Regions from separate parts of the Homo sapiens genome. Here region 2 is linked to region 1. The links are contacts of gene promoters, found by promoter capture Hi-C in human tissues and cell types (Jung and others, 2019). All regions are on one chromosome and are shown on one strand. Each heading gives the region's core, a stretch centred on a gene start or on the middle of the fragment in contact. The rest is flanking DNA. Distances are from core to core; before and after follow the strand shown.

Region 1 (5,953 bases), core at 1,208-3,707:
CCCTCAGTATCCTCGGGTTCCGCATTCCTGGATTCTATCAACCGAGGATAGAACATATTTTAAAATCACAATAAAACAAAAAAATACAAATGAAAAACAATACAGTATAACAACCATTTACATAGCATTTATATTGCATTAGGTATTATAAGTAATCTAGGATGTATGTAGGTTATATGCAAATACTTCGCTCTTTTATATGAGGGACTTGAGCAGCCTTGGATTTTCCTATCCATGGGGGTCCCGGTCCAGAAACCAATTTCCCAAGGATACCAAAGGACGACTGTAGTTTTACTGGAGGCCATTTTTAATTGCAGACATGAAGAGCTATTGTTCACCATCTCGTTCACCATCTCTGAGCTGCACCTGGTCTGGGTCTGTGGCATCTCAAATCCTGCCTGACTCAAACTTGAGCTACATGCAAGGAAGAAGGGAATGGGGAACTTCTTCAGGGGCCACTAAGTTTTGGGGAAGTTCGTTATGTAGCAATAAATAACTGATACAAGGCCACTTAAATATTTTACTCTGTAGTAAGATAGCTAATTAACAAAAACTAAGAGTCAATTGAAGAGAACTCATTAAGGAAGTGGGTCATTTCAAACGCTTTTATTTACTTGTGATGACAATTAAATAAAGAACAAACTCGTCATCTTTCTTTGATGAAAAAATTGTTTGATATTCTGAGAACAAAAGTGATGCCATACTGCCATTAAGAAACTGATTCAGACTCGATCTCTCAACAAGGTAAGACATCAATGTTCCCATCAAGAGCTGCCCATAATACTGCAGTACACTTCTCTGGCACCATTAAAAAAAAAATCTCTTAGAGATGATCCTGAAATCTCTTCTAAAGACATGAAAGAGGTGTGCTTGTATAATCTGGTATTACAAAGAAATGAGAAATTGCCCTGATGACGAATCTCCAGCTCTAATCTCAATTTGCTGAAGTAGAGAGGCAATTCATCTTACCCATTAACTAAGAATTAGAAAAACAATTTGTGTTTTTCTTTGAGTCATTTAACTCAAATACCACTATATAAAGGAATAGAATGAGACATTCGCATGAATTTGAAAGGTAAATAAAACATCAGACTTCAAAGAAATTCCATTAGAATCGGGGGTTACTTTTTTGTTTTCTTTTCCTCCACCTCCACCTTAAGGAACATGAACGGCATTTGGCCACAGTTTATGTCTTTCCAATTTTATCTTCCACCATCTACCGCTCAGTTCTCCTCACTTCCAGCCAAACAATGTATGTTCCCCAAACACGCCTTCACAATTTCGTTCTAGTTGGTGTCTACCTCTAGTATATGTGTAGTCAATTTATACACACATTCCCCACGATCTTGAAACGTCTTGACATCCACAAGCAAATCTAGGTTTCTAACATAACACTAACTTTGTAAGTCTGTCCATATAAGGTTTTAGCAAACCTAGTAAAACAGAAAACGCACTATTATCCAGGCTTATATTCTGAGATTTGAAAAACCCCTCTATCTGCTACCTTTGGGTTTCTGAATTTACATACCACTCTCAAGTATACAGTATTCACGATTTCTAAGAACTGGAGAGTAAACCTAGTCCTCTAACAATGGCATTTTATTTGTTGAGTTAGGGCACTACCTGCCCACGATGAGGATAGTTAATGAAACGCTGCCCGGTAACGACGATTAAAGGCTTTGATTGAAAACGTATTAGGCCTTAAGAATTTTGCGAACATCTAATTTAACCCTAGTAACTGTGGCGTGGGTTCTTTCAGAATTTACACGCACGTGGGAGACCGCGAAGCGCAGGCAGCGTTAAAACTAGGGCGCTGGAGTCACCCCCGTACCCCGAATGCCGTCGGCGCTCCAGGGCCCCCAGAGGGTGCGGGGGGCGGGGACGCTGTGACGTCACAGAGCGCCCTTCTGACGTTCTCACGGACCCGCTTTGCCTCGGGGGCCCACGCTGGAGCCCACCCAGTACTACTAAGAAATGAGGAGGAAAAAGGGGCGCCGGCTCTCGTAGCGCCTATTTTCTCGGCAGAGGGACCCACGTGCTCGCTTTGGTGGACTCTGCGCCCGGCGAGTACCGCCGGCCTGAAGCTTCCCGCCGCCGCGTCCACGCGACCCAGCCAGAGAGGGCTCAGTCAGCCGGCGCGGCACCTACAAGCTCAGTCGGGATCCTGGAGAGGCGGGAAGGCAGCGGGGCCCTTTCCACAGAGAGAACACAGCTCTTCGGGAGATTCCCCCGCTGCCCCCGAGCCCTGCTCTCCCGCCTCGGCCTCTGAGGACTACCCGCAGGGCGCAGGCAGCCGCGAAAGACTCAGCCTCCTTCCAACTTCGCGAGGGCCGAGGGGGCGGGCCCCGGGCGCGCGCGCGGCGAAGCCCCGCCCCTGCCCGCGCGGCCTGCTGGATTCGCCCCGCCCCTCGCTGTCGCCCGCCGCCCGCCACCCGCCACCGCTCTTCCTCCTGCGCCACAGTCCCGGCGGCGGCGCTGGTCGCGGGTCGCACCGTGAGGCTCGCGTGGGCGGCGATAGGCGCTGGGCCCGGGCCCGGTGAGGAGCGCGCCGCGCGTCCCCTTCTCCTCAGGAGTGGCGGGCCGCGGAAGTGACGTGGTGCACGGGCAGGAGCGCGTTTGAATCGGTTCCCGGGTGATCCTCGCGCCTGCCGCTGCTCGGCCGCCGCCGCTGACGAGGAGCTGCAGCGCGCCGGGCCGAGGCCTCGAGCCGCCCCGGGAGCTGGAGCTGAAGGCGCCGCGCGGAGCGCGCACCTCAGCCCTGAGCCCGGCGGCGGCAGGCGTCGCTGTCTTTTCTCCTTTTCCCCAATATGGCAGCGGCGGACGGCGGCGGGCCTGGTGGGGCCTCTGTGGGGACTGAGGAGGATGGCGGAGGCGTCGGCCACAGGACGGTGTACTTGTTTGATCGGCGCGAAAAGGAGTCCGAGCTCGGGGACCGGCCTCTGCAGGTCGGGGAGCGCTCGGACTACGCGGGATTTCGCGCGTGTGTGTGTCAGGTACGCGAAGGGGCGAGGAAGGGATGCGCGTGTAGACTTGGGGGCGGGAGGGTGATGAGAAACTCAACTTGCTCACTGAGGGCAATAAACCTGTCACCCGGTCCCGGTCCTGCGGCCTTGGCTTCCCTCTCCCGTGTGCCCGCCATGTCCGTGACCTGGTGGCCGGACGCCTCGGGCGGGCCCTGGCCCGGGCCTCGAAGTGCAGGGCCGGCTCCCCCGTGGCCCTCCCTCTGCCTCCGCTCCTTTTACGGGAGGCCTTGCCGGCCCGGGTGGAGAGCTCAGCGTTTGTTGGCCCTGGGCGAGCTTAGCCCGGTTGCGGCCCTGCAGTCTAGGGAAAGCCGTTGGTGGTGTCTGTTTTTACTTTGTAACTTTTTTAAAACGAGAGAAGGGAGTTAACGCCCAGGGGCTCTGTTGTGAGTGTTGCGACGGTGGGAAGTTGTGAAATGCCCGGAGTCATCTCCCCCAAGTTCATTAGATGATGCGGGGTGTCCCCGGGTTGCCCTGTCGAGGTTGCAGGTCCTTCTGGGGCGGGGCGGCGGGGGGGATCCTTCCGCACGGAGACACTTGTCCAGGTCAGCTCTGCAGGTAGAGCTGGCCTTCTGCCTGTCTGAGCCCTAACCCTTGGGAATTTCCAAACCAAGTCAAAGGTTGGTATGGGTGGCTGTGGAGCACCAGAAAACGTACCTACCCCGTGTATTGGTTCGCTTTGAAAATGAACGTGGAGGGAAATCCGCTTTAAACTGTGATGTACTTTATAGATATGAGGTGGTGGCATTGCCTGAGCTTTGAAGAAGGAATATTGTCATGCTCTGAATTAACCATATGAGGTCCCTTTTTAAGCTGTTAAGAACACTTAGCGTCCAAGGGAAAAAAAGAACTTTGAAGCCGTGTTTTGTCGTGAGGCTGATAGGTTTAGAAATGTTCTAGACCATATAACTGTATGGTTGCTGAAATAATTGAAATCGTGATCCGTAGAATGAAAACGATTGGAGAAGTAAGGACTTTCTTTTGTTCACAGCTGTAGTCCCAGCGTCTAGAACTGTGCCTGCGACATTGTAAATGCCCAGATTAGAATGGATAAATGAATGAAGACAAAAACCTATCCCCTCAAGTTAATTCTGTGCCTGAACGTAGTAGATTCCCGTTGTGTTTGAAAAGTGAATGAATGCTCATCTTTTTTGTTGAATGCTTTCTATTCAGAACCATTCTACAAAAGGGAAACTTTTTACGTTTATTGTGTTTATAGTAAAAATATCAGTACATTAAAGAAAATATGGAACCAGAGGGGGGAAACAAGTAAATCTTTTACTCGCTGTAAAACTACTATATGACTACTCTTAGCACCTGAGGTTATGTCTTTTCAGCCTTCCTCCTCCTTCCCACTCCATTTTTTAAATTACTAAAATATGTGTTTTATATTCTATTAATTTTTTCACTTAATAGTGTCAGAAGTTTCTTTAAACGTAGGTCTTCAAATCAAAATTTGAAATGGTCCATTTGCTACCACTATTTACATAACCGAATCTCTCCTTTCTGTTGACATTTACATTACTTTTAATTTTTTTGATTTTAAGTAATGCTGTAATAAACATTTTCCCAGGCCCAAATATTCCCGGGCTCAGGTGATCCTCCCACCTCAGCCTCCCAAGTAGCCAGGACTACAGGTGAGCGCCACCATGCCCAGCTATGTTTTTTTTTTTTCGTATTTTTCGTACATACGGGGGTTTGGCTGTGTTGCCCAGGCTAGTCTCGAGCTCCTGGGCTCAAGAGATCCACCCGCCTCCCAAAGTGCTGGGATTACTGGCGTGAGCCACTGCACCCAGTGGAAAAACATCTTTGAATACATAGCCGTTTATGTCTTTTATTATTGTTTGCTTAGTTTGAAATCTTAGAACTGGATCAAAGATGAGATACATCTTTAAAGCTCTTGTTTCGTATTTTAAAATTGCTTTTTGAAAATGTTTTGCTACTTTACCCTTCCTCTAGAAATGCACTATTTCCCTCTCGTGAGATGTCTCAGTAACTCTTAGATAAATAGAGGAAGTATTATTGGCCTTTTATTACAGAAGTATAAACACAGTCGTGGAAATGGTGACTCATTACTCAGATAGTAAAGCTCAAGTTAGTATTCAAACCCAGAACCTCTGTTCATTCTGTTATACTACTCAAATGGCATTCTTTGCTGTAGGGAACAGATGTATTTATTCCTTCCTTCAATATTTCAACTGGAAAACCAAGGAAAATATTTCTTTTAACTAATTCTGTTCCTCCTTCCTCCCACTTTATCCTGCTAGAAAACGTTTTAAATTTAGTTAGAAATGAGAGGGACCAACTAGTAAGAAAAAAGAAGGCTGAGAAGGCTAACTTTTTTGTTGTTAGACTTCTTTTAAGCATTATTAGATTGTGCCTCGGATCCCATAACTTTGTCTCCATTACGTACTCGAAGAACTGAATTAAGTCAGTGAATTAATAATCTGAGATTACATGGTCAACAAGCAGTGAAACTGGGATTGGAATTTAGGTCAATTTGATTCCAAAGCTTATGTATACATATACATATATATGTGTGTGTGTATATATATGTATATGTATATATACATATATATACACACATACACACATATATACACATATATACGTGTATACGCATATATACATATATACACATATATACACATATATATACACACACATATATATATTTTTTACACTACTCCACACTATTTATTAGAACCATCACTTTTGTCCTTAGGGGAAGAGACAAAATAATATACTAAAGTTTTTGTTAAAATGTAAATTAAACCAATAAATGTTTGTAGTGTCAGGCAGTATTATGGGTGATCCTAAACTGTTACTTATTTATTTATTTTTTTTGAGACGGAGTCTCGCTCTGTTGCCCGGGCTGGAGTGCAGTGGTGCCATCTTGGCTTACTGCAACCTCTGCCACCCAGGTTCAAGTG
Region 2 (5,953 bases), core at 1,629-4,128, 520 kb after region 1:
AGCTGAGGGGCATGGTGGAAGCCCCAGCGTGGAAGCGAGTCTCATCAAACTCTCCCTTATACCCTAGAGAAGAAAACAGAAACGCATGTGAACTGCTTTGTGATCGATTTATTTTAAAACCATGGGAAGAAATTTTTAAAAACACACACACACTTTGAAGAAAACAAATCTAGCAAACCTACTTTTTACCACAACTGAAGCATATGCCGAAAGCTCTCCTTTAACATTCATCGCCGAGGCCCGGTACTGAGCTGTATCTTCAAAATCACATCTGAAAGAACAGACGGAAATGAATATCCATCGTAGTGACAATCCTTGTAATTACTAGCTGTTCTATCAAGGAACTCTTTGCTATCACAGCCCCCTGCAAATCAGTGGCTAACACATGGCTCTTTGGTTCTCCTGGTACAGCTATTTGTCTCTGATCTAGCTACCTGTGGGATATTACCTAGTCCAAGTGATCTACTGCAGTTTCATGCCAGCAGCATAGACTGGGGAGAGAACACCTATAGTTCACTGTGACCCTAGCCTGGGTTCATTTAAAATGTCAAAAAAAAAAGTCAACCAAGTGCTAGGCACATAAATTATAGAGTGAACAGCATTGTGATCCGCTTACTTGTCTAAAGTTGCATTGGGAGGAGAAAATGTGCAGGCGTGTACCTTTGTAGCAAGTAACTACCCAGAGGCACACTGGAGGGCGTGGCTTTCCTGCTGTCCTGCCCTTGTGGTGGGTTTCAGTCTGGGGGCAACCAGGAAATAGGGAAGAGAAAGAAGCAGTCCCTCCGTGTAGATTCCCACAACCTCCCTGAGCCACGTTGGTCTATGTGTTCTAGCTTCAAAGCTCATCTAAGTTATTTACACTTCATTTCCACTAAGGTTCAGGCCATACTTGGAATTTCAGCTCACAGCACACAAGAAGCGCCATTTGGATGTTCTTCTAAGTTATAATACAGAAACTGGAATTCTTATAAAAATGGACCATTAGGGAGAGAATGGTTTCATGGAGAGATGAAGAGGCTAAGGTTTCAAAGCAGGTTGTTTTATGTCTTATCATTACCAGTTTCTCGTGTTCTTCATTGTTTCTCGGGGTTTAGTTTCATTTGTGTAAATTTTTTTTCTTGCTGAAATTTTACAGACATCAATAGAACCCCAGCAAGGCAAACACAGTTGCCCTTCTCATAACTACTTAATTTTGAAAGTAACCACATAGCTCACTGTTGCTTTAGCAGAACCACCCACTGGCAGAACTGACCTGACTTTGGGTCAGGGTCAGTGCCTGGCAAATGGCACAGGGTCCTAGCATCATTTGGCCAACTCCTCTGATCTGAGGAGAAGGCTATAAGTCTCCTGAGAATGAATGGTATAAATTTCACCTTGACACTTAGGCACATCATGGTTTTATCTAAACTGAAAATTCTGGGAACTTGTTTAGCTTTTCATTGACCTAATTAGGTTTGAATTTCAAAATCATCTTGGGAGGCAAAATAAACATTTGGGAACTTAGGAATTTTGATGTAGGTTTCGTTTTCAAATTTTGCTTTGGATTTTACTTTAAGCTCAAACATCTCAATGTCTAGCCTGCTTCACATACACAGATTGACAGAGTGCATACTTTCCCATGGTTCCTGGCAAGCTGAAGGAAAGAACATTATCTCCAAGTTTAGCCCACATTCAATGCCACCTACCCGGATCTCCATGGCCTTTAGTTATTAAAAACAAGAGACTGTGATGATGATATTGATTTGGGACTCTGAAATGATTACTGAATATAAATGCCTCTTTATGCAACATATTTTTCTTACTTACATCTAAGAAAAATTCCCAAGTATATAAAAAGATAAATAAAAACATGCAAATTGGTTTTTTTCTCATCATCTTTGACCGAATCCAAATATAAAATCACTTTGGGAGGTAGTGTGGGTATGGTAAGGATCAGTCATACATATCACTTTCAGGTGTGCACCCAGAGAAGCACCGTATACGAATGTCCCTCAGTGTGATCACACAGCATTGGGATGAAGTGGGGAGAGTGGCTGTTAACTGCAGGGGTGAGAAGCCTCCCTGAGCAATGGTGAGCAACACATGGACACTAATGTTCTCTTACCCATTAATCTCCAGAGTGTGCATCCCATATCGACTCTCAATAATATACTTTCCAGGGTTTGCATGGACATTTATTGGCACCTGGTTTTTATACCTATAACAGAATGGAAACAAAATGAAGTAAGTTGAAGTGTAAACAACTTCATGATTAAACACACACACAATTCTTGTTCTTGCAGGAACATCTGTAAACAGGGCACTGAGGGTAGCAGCAGCATCGATTAAATAAATGTAAATCATATTGGCTTACGTGAAGTGCACCAGCAATACATCACACTTCTTGATGAAGTGCTTTCCCCTCCTCTATAAACTTACATGAAAAATGTTGACGATTCACAGCAATATGGCTGAATATCATGTAACATAGTTACCGAAAAAAGCCAGTTACAAAACAGTGCACAGCAGAATGATTGCTTTTATATAGAATACAAAAACAAAAAACTAATTAATGCTACTAGAAATCAGTAGTGTGTTGGGACGCAAGAAGGAGGCTTCTTGGGTGTCAATAATGTTTATTGATTTGGGTGTCAGTTACATGGGTGTGTGCAATCTACAAAAATTCACTAAAGCAATTCATTTGTAAAAGTGTGCAGTCTTTGGGAAGCCGAGGCGGGCAAATCACTTGAGGTCAGGAGTTTGAGACCAGCCTGGCCAACGTGGTGAAATACCATCTCTACTAGTAATACTAAAAATTAGCCAGGCATGGTAGCACACACCTGTAATCCCAGCTACTCAGGAGGCTCAGGCACAAGAATTGTTTGAACCCAGGAGGCGGAGGTTGCAGTGAGCTGAGATTGTGCCACTGCACTCCAGCCTGGGCGACGGAGTGAGACTCCATCTCGAAAAAAAAAAATTTGCAGTATATAATATGCACACTTTTTGTGTGCATGTTATATTATAATTTAAAAGGTTTTAGGCCAGGCATGGTGGCTTATGCATGTAATTCCTGTAATCCCAGCACTTTGGGAGGCTGAAGTGGAAGAATCACTTGAGGCCAGGAGTTTGTGACCAGCCTGGGCAATAAGCAAGACCCTGAATCTACAAAAACTACAAAAAATTAGCTGAGTGTAAACCTGTAGTCCCAACTACTTTGGAGGCTGCAGTGGGAGAATAGCTTGAGCCTGAGAGGCTGAGGCTGCAGTGAGCTATGATCGCACCACTGCACTCCAGCCTGGGCAACAGAGTGAGACCGTGTCTTAAAATAAATAAAACAAACAAACAAATAAGCTTTTTAAAAATAAATAAAACAAATAAATACATAAATAAGCTTTTTAAAAAGTTGACCACTATTGATGTAACAGAGAGGAAGGCTTTCTGTTGGGGGTTTTATTGCTGGCTATCTGTGTAGGATGAGAGCAAAACATTCTTCCTGCTAACATTCTTGCATGTTGTTAGAAGCAATATCATTATTATTATTATTATTATTATTATTATTATTATTATTATTTGAGACAGAGTTTCACTCTTGTTGCCCAGGCTGGAGTGCAATGGCATCATCTTGGCTCACTGCAAACTCCACCTCCCGGGTTCAAGTGATTCTCCTGCCTCAGCCTCCCCAGTAGCTGGGATTACAGGCACCGGCCACTACGCCTGGCTAGTTTTTTGTATTTTTAGTACAGATGGGGTTTCACCATGTTGGTCAGGCTGATCTCGAACCCCTGACCTCAGGTCATCCACCTGCCTTGACCTCCCAAAGTGCTGGGATTACAGGTGTGAGCCACTATGCTCGGCCTGCAATATCATTGTATTGAACGATCATTATATTTAAGTGTTTTATTCAATGTCATAAACAAACATGGCTCTTGCCTTGGAAGAATTTATAATATAAATCATGAAAGGAAACTTCTGACAAGTAAGAGCTGAAAGCCTCCCTTTTTCTGACTGTTCCATATCTGGTTAAGCCTCACAGCCCTCGGAGAGTGGACTACGCAGGCGGGCCTCTCCCTGGGACCCTGTCTTCTGGGTCTGTACGTGGCGCCTGGATTCTTCACCACTTCCTCATGTTCTCAGTAGCCAGTGGCTATGGTGCTGGACCAGGCTTTTCTACTTAAACCATTTTCTGCCCAAAAGAGGAACTGGGTTTCACTTGTTTCCCTTTCAGACAGCCCACTTCGCACGCACAGATGACGTCAATAACCCTGATTAACATAGCTGACACAGAGAATTGACTATGAGCCAGGCAATGCTCTAAGCGCTTTATGCATACATTGGTAAGTTCAGTTCTCACAACCACCGTATGAGATAGTGCTGTTTTTAACCTCATTTTCCAGATGAAGAAACCAAGGCATGGGGGTTTCAGGAACTTGCCCAGTCACACAGCCAGGAACAGCAGAGGAGGGATTTGAACCGGCAGCCTGGCTGCTGACCCACATGATGCTTCCATTTTCCAATTGTTCTGTCTGCATTTCATTTCTTCAGACTTGTGGACACGATCATAAGGAGGTTTGGGAGTAGGGAACATGATGGAAAGGGAGAGGAAGGAAGAATACTGGCTTCAGTCAGCTCCTTCCTTTCCCCAGCTCTCTCTCTCACATACACATACACCCCTCCGTCCCTAAAGCACGTTATTCATTTTCTACACTTAAAACAAACAAACACTCTCCTCCATATAACAGAACCCGAACTCATCCTTCAAGATTCAGATCAAATGCAACTTCTTCAATAAACTCTTCCCTAAAATATGACACAGTATGAATCGTTCCTGCCTCTCTGCATCAGGGTTCCTTGCTTCAAGTTACTAAATATAACATTTATCAAAATTATGGTTGGATATGTGTCTCTTCTATTATGTTGCCAAACCTTTGAGGTTGGGATTGTGTCTGATCCACATTTACTTTTTTTTTTTGAGACAGTGTCTCGCTCTGTCTCCCATGCTGGAGTGCAATGGTGTGATTATAGCTCCCTGCAACCTCCACCTCCCAGGCTCGAGCAATCTTCCCACCTCAGACTACCAAGTAGCTGGGACTACAAGTGTGCACCACCACACTCAGCTAATTTTTTCTATTTTTTGTAGAGACAGGCTCTTGCTATGTTGCCTATGCTGGTCTTAAACTCCTGGGCTCAAGCAATCCTCCCACCTCGGCCTCCCAAAATGCTAGGATTACAGCCATGAGCCACTGTGCCTGGCCTGATCCACATTTACTTCTATTCCTACTCCTGAGGAAGAATGAGTCATGGGCAAACAGCAGGCGCTCAGAATTGGTTAAATTTGGTTGAACAGAATTAGCACGTAATGCAATAGATTAATTGTAGCTTCATAATTTTTTGTCTGAGAGAACAGAGTTCTGACAAGCATATATGTCATGATATGGATGATTTTATTTTAAATAAATAGCGATGAGGTCTCACTATGTTGCTCAAGTTGGTCTCAAATTCCTGGGCTCAAGCGATCCCCCTGCCTCAGCCTCCCAAAGTTGGATGATTTTAAATAAATGCACACGAAGAAAGTAAGTTGACAGTCTCAGTTCCCTCAGATGTGAAATGGAGAGGGTGGGACTGGCTTAAGAATCGCAGCTGTGTGGCAGGTGCAGCAACATAACCTTCTCCAAACACAGAAGACCCTGCAAGTTGATGCAGTGCTATTTCCTGCCAGCAGCTTCAGACAGCTGTCTCAACATGGCTCGAGCAGACAGGACTATCTGATCAGAGATGGCCTGGAAAAAGAAATCCACTGGCCACTTCTAATCTCCCGCATTCCCCGTTTAGATGAAGTACAGGGTAGAACATGTTAATTGGCATGCTCTTCTTCTATAATTGGTTTAGGTAATTTCACACTGGACTCAAGCTCACTCTGGCTCTGCTCTTTCTTGTGCTGGAGGGTTTTCAGTGGTTCCTCTTTGCCTAAGAAAAG

The links. The method cuts DNA at HindIII sites, captures the fragments that hold promoters and counts their contacts. A contact is called where the count stands out against the background at its distance.
Region 2: a contact is called between a fragment that was not itself captured here and the fragment with the promoter of SMCHD1 in region 1, in 1 of the 25 tissues and cell types used here (lymphoblastoid cells).

The regions. Positions count from the first base shown.
Region 1 is chr18:2,653,269-2,659,221 of GRCh38, forward strand. It overlaps SMCHD1 (structural maintenance of chromosomes flexible hinge domain containing 1), which reads left to right and starts at 2,458. Exons shown (of 48, transcript NM_015295.3): 1 at 2,458-2,993. The coding sequence starts at 2,808. It also overlaps the pseudogene CBX3P2. RefSeq lists an enhancer at 637-1,266 and silencers at 2,301-2,750, 2,981-3,160. The HindIII fragment of the contact is 8,444 bases long and covers 588-5,953 here.
Region 2 is chr18:3,173,938-3,179,890 of GRCh38, forward strand. MYOM1 (myomesin 1) reads right to left here. Exons shown (of 38, transcript NM_003803.4): 6 at 2,105-2,197; 7 at 183-271; 8 at 1-63. Among named protein-coding and RNA genes, the nearest start is that of MYOM1, 43 kb to the right of the region's middle. RefSeq lists enhancers at 3,863-3,982, 4,003-4,392. The HindIII fragment of the contact is 4,313 bases long and covers 723-5,035 here.